Regions from separate parts of the Homo sapiens genome. Here regions 2 and 3 are each linked to region 1. Evidence: promoter capture Hi-C in human tissues and cell types (Jung and others, 2019). All regions are on one chromosome and are shown on one strand. Each heading gives the region's core, a stretch centred on a gene start or on the middle of the fragment in contact. The rest is flanking DNA. Distances are from core to core; before and after follow the strand shown. Region 1 holds the start of ZAR1 (zygote arrest 1). Region 2 has its middle 3.8 kb from the start of FRYL. Region 3 overlaps OCIAD1 (OCIA domain containing 1).

Region 1 (2,847 bases), core at 169-2,668:
TATTTCTTATAAAAAACTAAAAGAAGAGGAAATGGCAGACACTTCCTATGGCACAGTGAAAGCAGAAAATATAATAATGATGGAAACCGCTCAGACTTCTCTCTAAATGTGGAGATACACAGGAGCTTCTATCTTGCTGAAATATTGCTTCATATTTATAGCCTGTGGTAGTGCACATGGTTAACATAAAAGATAACACTGGTTCACATCATACATGTAACAATTCTGATCTTTTTAAGGTTCACTGGTGTATTAACCAAACGTTGTCACAAATTACAAATCAATGCTGTAATATAATTTGCACCTGGAATGGCTAACGTGAAGCCTGAATTAAATGTGGTTTTTAGTTTTTACCATCACCAATTTCTATGACTGTTGCAAATACAGAATCTATTAGAAAACAGGGTCTTGGAAATGTAGAATTTTGGCGCACTATGAGGAAAAACAAGCTATCTTTGTAAAGCATAATTGAGTTTAATGTAATTGTTGTAAAAAAAAAAGTGTGCTTGCTCTACTTAAAATTCCTCACAATGTTGAATTTTGACCTGTATTCAGAAGAATTCCAAAACAGGTCAGTTAAATAAGGAAATATAGTATTTGTCAAACCAGTATCAGAGAAAAGTTACATTAATGTATTTGATTACTTGATCTGGTATCTACTTATTAATGAATAATCAACATTTTTCTAGTGGACAAGCCATGTTCTTTTCGACTGGTCTTCTGCATTTATGTAAACACACCCCAAATCAATTTATCTTTTGTAGGAATGATTTGGTTGGGAAATTTTTCAGAACCGCTCTGGAGCAGAACAAAACGGTACCTCCCGGTCACCACTGGGACTGGGGGAAGGGACACGCTCCAGGGGAGAAAACAATTCGCCTAGATGAAGATCCCTGGGTGGTTCTCCATGCACTCGCCGAGGGGGCTCAGTGGGTAGCCTCTTAGAGCAGCTCTGAGAATAAACTTATCATCTGAGTTAACGGGTAATAGACCCAGAACAGTTCCCAAACCTTGGCACTTTCGCTCACTTAGCCAGAGGCACCCGGCCTGGCCTCGGCTTCCCGGTGAGGGAGCGGGGGTGGGGGGGATGCGCAGGCACCTGGAACAATCAGGGCACCGGGAGAAGCCGGCTCAGCTGATGCCGGTGATGAGTTTCTCTCATTGAAATCCTCCTCACCTCGGGCGCCTTGGTTCCCTTACGGATCAGCCCTTTCATCACAAAGAAAGCCCTCTTTCCAGATCATCTAAGGGTCATTGTGCCAACATCCGGGCGTGGAGAGTTTCTGTAGGGAGAAGGACGAAGAGGGGCCCCCTCGGCGGGGACGCGGGCCGGTGGCAGGAAGGGCGTGGAGGGCGGTGCAGCGTGCGAGCCCCCGCCGAGGGCCATCCCCGCCTCCGCTCGGCCGCCCGGGCAAGTCGCCTATTTAGGGTGCGGCGGCGGGCGGGAGCAGTGCGCCCATGGCGGCCCTGGGGGACGAGGTGCTGGACGGTTACGTGTTCCCGGCGTGCCCCCCCTGCTCGTACCGGTACCCATACCCCGCGGCCACCAAGGGCAAGGGCGCGGCGGGCGGCAGCTGGCAGCAGCGCGGCAGGGGCTGCCTTCCCGCCTCCTCCCCCTGCTCGGCGGGCGCGGCCTCGTTGTCCTTCCCGGGCTGCGGGCGGCTGACGGCCGCCGAGTACTTCGACAGCTACCAGCGGGAGCGGCTCATGGCTCTCCTGGCGCAGGTGGGGCCGGGTCTCGGGCCGCGCGCCCGCAGGGCCGGCAGCTGCGACGTGGCGGTGCAGGTGAGCCCGCGCATCGACGCCGCGGTACAGTGCTCGCTGGGGAGGCGCACGCTGCAGCGCCGGGCCCGCGACCCCGAGTCCCCGGCCGGCCCCGGGGCCGAGGGCACCACGGGTGGCGGCTCTTTCTCCCAGCAGCCATCCCGTCGAGGCCTGGAGCAGGGCAGCCCCCAGAACGGCGCCCCGCGGCCCATGCGCTTCCCGCGCACCGTCGCCGTGTACTCGCCCCTGGCCTTGCGCCGTCTCACCGCCTTCCTGGAGGGGCCCGGGCCCGCGGCGGGCGAGCAGAGGTCCGGGGCGTCGGACGGAGAGAGGGGGCCGCCGCCCGCGCGGCTTCAAGGCCCAGAGGAGGGGGAGGTGTGGACGAAGAAGGCGCCCCGGCGGCCGCAGTCCGACGACGACGGCGAGGCCCAGGCCGCAGTCCGAGCGAGCTGGGAGCAGCCGGCCGACGGTCCCGAGCTGCCGCCGCGAGAGGCCCAGGAGGGCGAGGCGGCTCCGCGGTCGGCGCTAAGGAGCCCGGGGCAACCTCCGTCGGCGGGGAGGGCCCGAGACGGCGGCGACGGACGGGAGGCGGCCGTCGCGGGAGAGGGGCCGTCGCCACGGAGCCCGGAGCTGGGCAAGGAGCGGCTGCGCTTCCAGGTAAAGCCTAGGGCGGTCAGGGCACAGGGGAGCCCGGGGGTGCGGGTGTCTTCCTTGGGCCTGGCCCTGTGACTGCTTCGGGCACTCGGAGGTGCGGCGCTTCCCTAAGCGTGGGCTACTTCCGTATTTCCGAGACAGCCAATGACCGCGATAGGTGTCTTCCTTGACAGCACAGTCTCATGTCCCCGACATCCAGACTTACTCGTGGCGGCTGCTCCACGGGCTGGCCAGGGCGACGCCCTTGGGACGTTCTTATAACCCACATATTTGCACTGTAAACCTCGCGCAGTGGGCGCATAGGCCAGCCCTGACCGCACGGTTGGATTACCTATCAGTAGGCACAACTGAACTTCGGAGCACTTGCCGGCTGGAGAGTCGATTCCCAAGGATCCCTCTCTCCCATTTCCGCACTGGATGTGGCAAAAA
Region 2 (2,907 bases), core at 39-2,538, 290 kb after region 1:
GGCAGGTGGATGACTTGAGGCCAGGAGTTCAAGACCAGCCTGGGCAACATGGCGAAACCCCATCTCTGCAAAAAATACAAAAATTAGCTGGTGGGAATGGTCACAGGCCTGTGATCCCAGCTACTGGGGAGGCTGAGGCAGGAGAATCACTTGAACCCGAAAGGCGAAGGTTGCAGTGAGCCAAGATTGCACCACTGTACTCCAGCCTGGGCGACAGAGTCTCACTCTGTCACACACACACACACACACACACACACACACACACACACCCTTCTCCAATGTGCTAATGTAAATAAAGCTTTTTAAATTATTGTATATAGATGTTTGTTAAAGTCTTTTAAATGGTGAAATACCTCCAGGCACCATGGCTCACACCGTGCCAGTAATCTCAGCACTTTGTGAGGCCGAGGCAGGCAGATCACCTCAGGTCAGGAGTTCAAGACCAGCCTGGCCAACATGGTGAAACCTCGTCTTTACTAAAAATACAAAAATTAGCCGGGCGTGGTGGCGCATGCCTGTAATTCCAGCTACTCGGGAGGCTGAGGCAGGAGAATGGCTTGAACTCGGGAGGCGGAGGTTGCAGTGAGCTGAGATCGCACCACTGCACTCCAGCCTGGATGACATAGCAAGACTCCGTGTCAAAAATAAAAAATACAAAAAAAGTGAAATATGTTATGATCACTATTCTCCCTGTTTATATGCAAATGTACCCCTCAAAGAGGTTCCATAGTTTAACCAGTAATTATTTTTCCTCTGAAAAATTATGTTACCATTCCTATTGGAAATTCTTTCCAGTTCACCACACACTTATATAGCGACTATTATGTGTTAAGAATAGTGAGAAAATGGGGGCCAAGTGCAGTGGCTCACACCTGTATTCCCAGCACTGGGAGGCCGAGGCAGGTAAATCACTTGAGCTCAGGAGTTCGAGACCAGGCTGACCAACATGGTGAAACCCCGTCTCTACTAAAAATACAAAATTAGCTGGGCGGGGTGGCGCGTGCCTGTAATCCCAGCTACTCAGGAGGCTGAGGCAGGAGAATCGCTTGAACCTGGAAGGCGGAGGTGCGGTGAGCTGAGATGTTGCCATTGCACTCCAGCCTATGCAACAAGAGTGAAACTCCGTCTAAAAAAAAAAAAGAATAGGGAGAAAATGATGAATATGTATCCATTCTCCAGAGAGTATGTCATGAATCTCCACCTATAAGGGGCACAGTTTTTACCCTTTATTTCCTTCAAAGCTCTTGCGTGGAGACTATGTATTCACCAGAGATTTTTCTATAGTAAAATTTTTAAAAATCCAGAGCATGGTGTGATGGTGCACACCTGTAATCTCAGCTAGTGGGGAGGCTGAGATGGGAAGATTGCTTTGAGCCCAGAAGTTCAAGGCCAGCCTGGGCAACATAGCAAGATCCTGTCTTTTTTTTTTTTTTTTTTCAAAAAAAAAATCCAACTAATGGAAGCTGTCAACCAAAATCATTTCCCCTGTCCCATTAATATTGATGAGAATAAGTTAAAAGAAAATAAGTCACAGTAGTTTGATTTAATGAAAAAATTCCAGGAAATAGTTCCACAGTCTCCTAGGTCTCCCAGAGGAGGTCCAAGTCCTTCACTCTCTAAAGTTAAATGTGTTGCTTTGTAAAATAAGAACTGATATTCATTGAGTATGTCACTGAAAGGTCTGCAATTATCAGTAAAAAATTCAATTGTGTTCAGTATATTTCACCTACTGGGTAGAATGTGGATATTAATACATTTTTAGAAAGCTTTCCAATTATCTCTTGCTTAAAACCCTTTAGAGATTTCTCTAGGCACATTCTGAATATAAACACCGCAGCAAAACGTACAAGTCTCTTTATAATCTGACTATAGGCTTCTTCTCAAATTTCTTCCCTGACCACTCCCTCGTTTGACACTGGAAGTGTCTGCTCTCTCAATATCAACTATCATGTTCTTTCAAGCTTCAATGCCATTCCCTTTGTGTAGAATAGCTTTCCCCTCTTTGCTCATCTGAAGGACACTTCAATCCATCCATCAAACTGATGGCCCAATAGAAGCATTGCCCTCTTTATGCAGTCTTCTCTAGTTGCACTCCCTTCCTTGACTTAATTATTCTTTGTGCTACTTTTCTACTACATATATACTATTTTGTTATAGGTATCACTTTGAATACAGAACTTAAATGTTTCTTTTCCTGTCTCTTGTACTAGTCTGGTTTGTTCTCACAGAGCAAAGCCAGGATTATGTATCATCGCATGGGCATCATTTAGTATGATGACTGGCATAAGTGAGGCTTTCAGTACAGCATGTCAAATTGAGCTGAATGAGCACAGCTGAAACCAAAAAGTTAACCTACAATGTGAAAATCTAATTAACCACAAGACCATTCTAGGAGCATTCTAATTACTTGATATTTTATTGCAAATCTATCTTATCAATTAGTAAAAGATCACTGGTTCTCAGACTTTTTTATTTCATGAACTGGTAAAATTTCCAAGGAATTTTTAGGAACTGACATAAGCTTATCAACTTTTTAATTTTTCCGTGTAAGGTACAAAAATAAATATAAATAAAACTTCTATCTATTCTCATTATTTCATAAAATAAGAATATTTTAAAGCCAGACCAGGTGTGGGGGCTCATGCTTGTAATCCCAACACTTTGGAAGGCCAAGGACAGGCAGATCACTTTAGCCAGGAGTTCAAGATCAGCCTGGGCAAAATAGCAAGACCCTATCTCTGCAAAAAAACAATAATCAAAAAATTAGCTTGGTGTGGTGGTGCATGACTGTAGTCCCAGTTACTCAGGAGGCCAGGGCAGGAAGATTGCTTAAGCCTAGGAGTTCAAGGTTACAGTGAACTATCATTGAACCATTGCACTCTAGCCTGGGTGGCAGAGTGCAACCTT
Region 3 (2,837 bases), core at 245-2,744, 360 kb after region 1:
CAAGGTTAGGAAATCGAGACCGTCCTGGCCAACATGATAAAACCCCATCTCTACTAAAAATACAAAAAAATTAGCCGGGCGTGGTCGTGCGTGCCTGTAGTCCCAGCTACTCAGGAGACTGAGGCAGGAGAATCGCTTGAACCCAGGTGGCGGAGGCTGCAGTGAGCTGAGATGGCGCCACTGCACTCTAGCCTGGGCAACAGAGCGAGACTCTGTCTCAAAAAAAAGGTAAAAATTGAGAGAGACTTTAAGAAAAGAATTTGGAATCCACCAAGACATTTTGCATTTAATCAAAATCCCTGACATTTTGTACAGTGGTCCTTTTGTGTCTGTGTGGATTGGTTCCAGGACCCTCCAGAGGATACCAAAATCCACAAAAGCTTAAGTCTCTGATATAAAACGGCCTAGTAAAGTTTACGTGCATATCTGCCTGTATACTGTAAATCATCTCTAGATTACTTATAATACCTAAGACTATGTAAACACTATGTAAATAGTTGTTATACTGTATTGTTTAGGGAATAATGACAAGAAACAAGTCTGTACATGTTTAGTATAGATGCAGTTTTTTTTTTCCTAAATATTTTCTATCCGCAGTTGGTTGCAGAACATGTACATATGGAGGGCTGCCTGTATCCCCTTTCATCCACAGTGTGTCATACTCCACGTGGTCTTAGATGTTCCTTCTGTTTCTTCCTGATCTGCCAAAACCATTTAAACATGCTCAGGTCTCCTCTAACTTGAGAACATTAAAAAGAAAAAAAAATCCTCCCTCATTTGTTTTTCCAGCTACTCCCAACTGCCTCATATTTGAAGCCAGAGGCAGACTTCATGAATGAGCCCTTCACTTTTTACTTCGTTTAACCCATTGCAGTCAGTGTGAGACTATCCATATGTTCTACCATTTATTGGAACTTTTCAAAAGTTCAAAAACAAACTTTTCAAAAACAACCTGTTTGTTGCTTAAATATAATGGACAGTTTTTGTTCTTGACCAACGTTACATAACTTTAACCAGTTTTTCTTGAAATAGTCTATTCTCTTGGCTTCCATGATGGCATATTCCTAAGATTTTTCTCCTACCTCAGGCGATTCCTCTGTTTCATGTTTTTTGAGTGTCTGATATGTACTATACATTGTTATATAGCACTAAACAACAAAAATTCATTAACTCTTGGTGCTTACATTCTTGTATGGGTTTTTTTGTCTAGTTGTTTGGGAAATGTTGGTGTTACTATATTTTGGATATAATATATAATATGTATGGCCCTTCTATAGGCTCCTCAAACAGAACTCAACCATTTTCCACAAAACCAATTCCTCCTTTCCCTTCATGACTGAGTGGTGTTAGTACTATCCAGGAAACTGGGACATTATCCTTCACATCTATCCCTTATCTGCCTTGTCCAATTAATGTCTTTTAGCTCTTAAATGTCTTTATTAACTATCTACCTCCATCTGTACTGCCAGCATAATTAATGCAACCATATGTCACAAAGAGTATTGCGTTAACCTTCAACAAATCTGTTTGTTTCCATTCTTGCTACTTCTCCTTAGGAAAATAAGCTATTTCTAGCACCTGACAGAGGACATACATAGTGCACATAGTACTCAAATATTTGAGGGGATGAATAGCAACCATGACACTATTATCTTTGTCTTAACTCTCTCTCTAGACTGTAAATTCCATGAGAGTAAAGAGTGTGTCCTGTTTCCTGTTAATATCCAGTATGTAGTACCTTTATGTTGTAAGTGGTCTATAACTAGTTGGTGACAGTATGAAGGAACAACTTTTTAATGTAAAAATAGAGATGTTCTTACCATCTTCCTTTTTCTATTGTCATCCCAGTTCTTATAAATGAAGGAACTGAGGCTAAAGGCACAGATTAGTTGTCTGTTTTTGTACTTTAATTACATGAAATCATACACTGAAATATTCTTTTATGTAAGTTCTTTCAACATGGTGAGATTCATCCAGTAGCATGCTGGAACTGGTTTGTACTGGCTCCTGAGAATTGGTTGTTAAATTTTCGGGAACTTTGGCAAGCTGGTTTTTAAAGTGTTGGTAGTTGGCCGGGTACGGTGGCTCATGCCGGTAATCCCAGCACTTTGGGAGGCTGAGGCAGGCGGATCATGAGGTCAGGTGATTGAGACCATCCTGGCCAATATGGTGAAACCCTGTCTCTACTAAAAATACAAAAAATTAACTGGGCATGGTGGTGTGCACCTGTAGTCCCAGCTACTTGGGAGGCTGAGGCAGGAGAATTGCTTGAACCCAGGAGGCGAAGGTTGCAGTGAGCTGAGATGGCGCCACTGCACTCCAGCCTGGGGACAGAGCGAGACTCGTCTCAAAAAAAAAAAAAAAAGAATTGGTAGCTTTACACCATGGAAACTGACAAACATTAAAATTAGAGCTTTTTATAGGGAGTGCTGGTTTACCAGCACATCATTGCACTTAACCACATTGTTGCATGTAGTTGCCCTATAGTTTTCCTCTGTGTGAATACACCAGTTTATCTATCTGAACTGTGCATTGATAATTGGTAGTTTTCAATTTTCACTGTTACAATTAGTTTTGCCAAGAATATGGTGCCTTTTTGATAGACATTTTGCTGGGTCATAGATTTTGTATATATTTATTTAGCTTTAGTAGATATTACCAAACTATTTAGACCAATGTATACTCCTACATTCTCACCAACACTAGCTATTTTTATGTCTTTTATGTTTTAGCCATTGTGGTAAATAAACACTAATATTGATTGCATTGTGGCTTGAATTTGTATTTCCCTGTAACCAATGAAGTTGAAGACCTTTCCATTTGTTTATACTTCATTT

The links. The method cuts DNA at HindIII sites, captures the fragments that hold promoters and counts their contacts. A contact is called where the count stands out against the background at its distance.
Region 2: a fragment that was not itself captured here is called in contact with the fragment with the promoter of ZAR1 in region 1 in 1 of the 25 tissues and cell types used here (dorsolateral prefrontal cortex).
Region 3: a fragment that was not itself captured here is called in contact with the fragment with the promoter of ZAR1 in region 1 in 1 of the 25 tissues and cell types used here (stomach).

Annotation. Positions count from the first base shown.
Region 1 is chr4:48,488,834-48,491,680 of GRCh38, forward strand. ZAR1 (zygote arrest 1) reads left to right here and starts at 1,419. Exons shown (of 4, transcript NM_175619.3): 1 at 1,419-2,421. The coding sequence starts at 1,459. SLC10A4 (solute carrier family 10 member 4) reads left to right here. Exons shown (of 3, transcript NM_152679.4): 3 at 1-693. The coding sequence ends at 106. RefSeq lists an enhancer at 553-1,090 and silencers at 1,316-1,565, 1,616-1,695. The HindIII fragment of the contact is 11,917 bases long and covers 1-2,847 here.
Region 2 is chr4:48,782,654-48,785,560 of GRCh38, forward strand. No RefSeq gene overlaps it. Among named protein-coding and RNA genes, the nearest start is that of FRYL, 3.8 kb to the left of the region's middle. The HindIII fragment of the contact is 3,640 bases long and covers 1-2,907 here.
Region 3 is chr4:48,844,397-48,847,233 of GRCh38, forward strand. All of the region lies in intron 4 of OCIAD1 (OCIA domain containing 1), which reads left to right. Among named protein-coding and RNA genes, the nearest start is that of OCIAD1-AS1, 14 kb to the right of the region's middle. The HindIII fragment of the contact is 4,889 bases long and covers 1-2,837 here.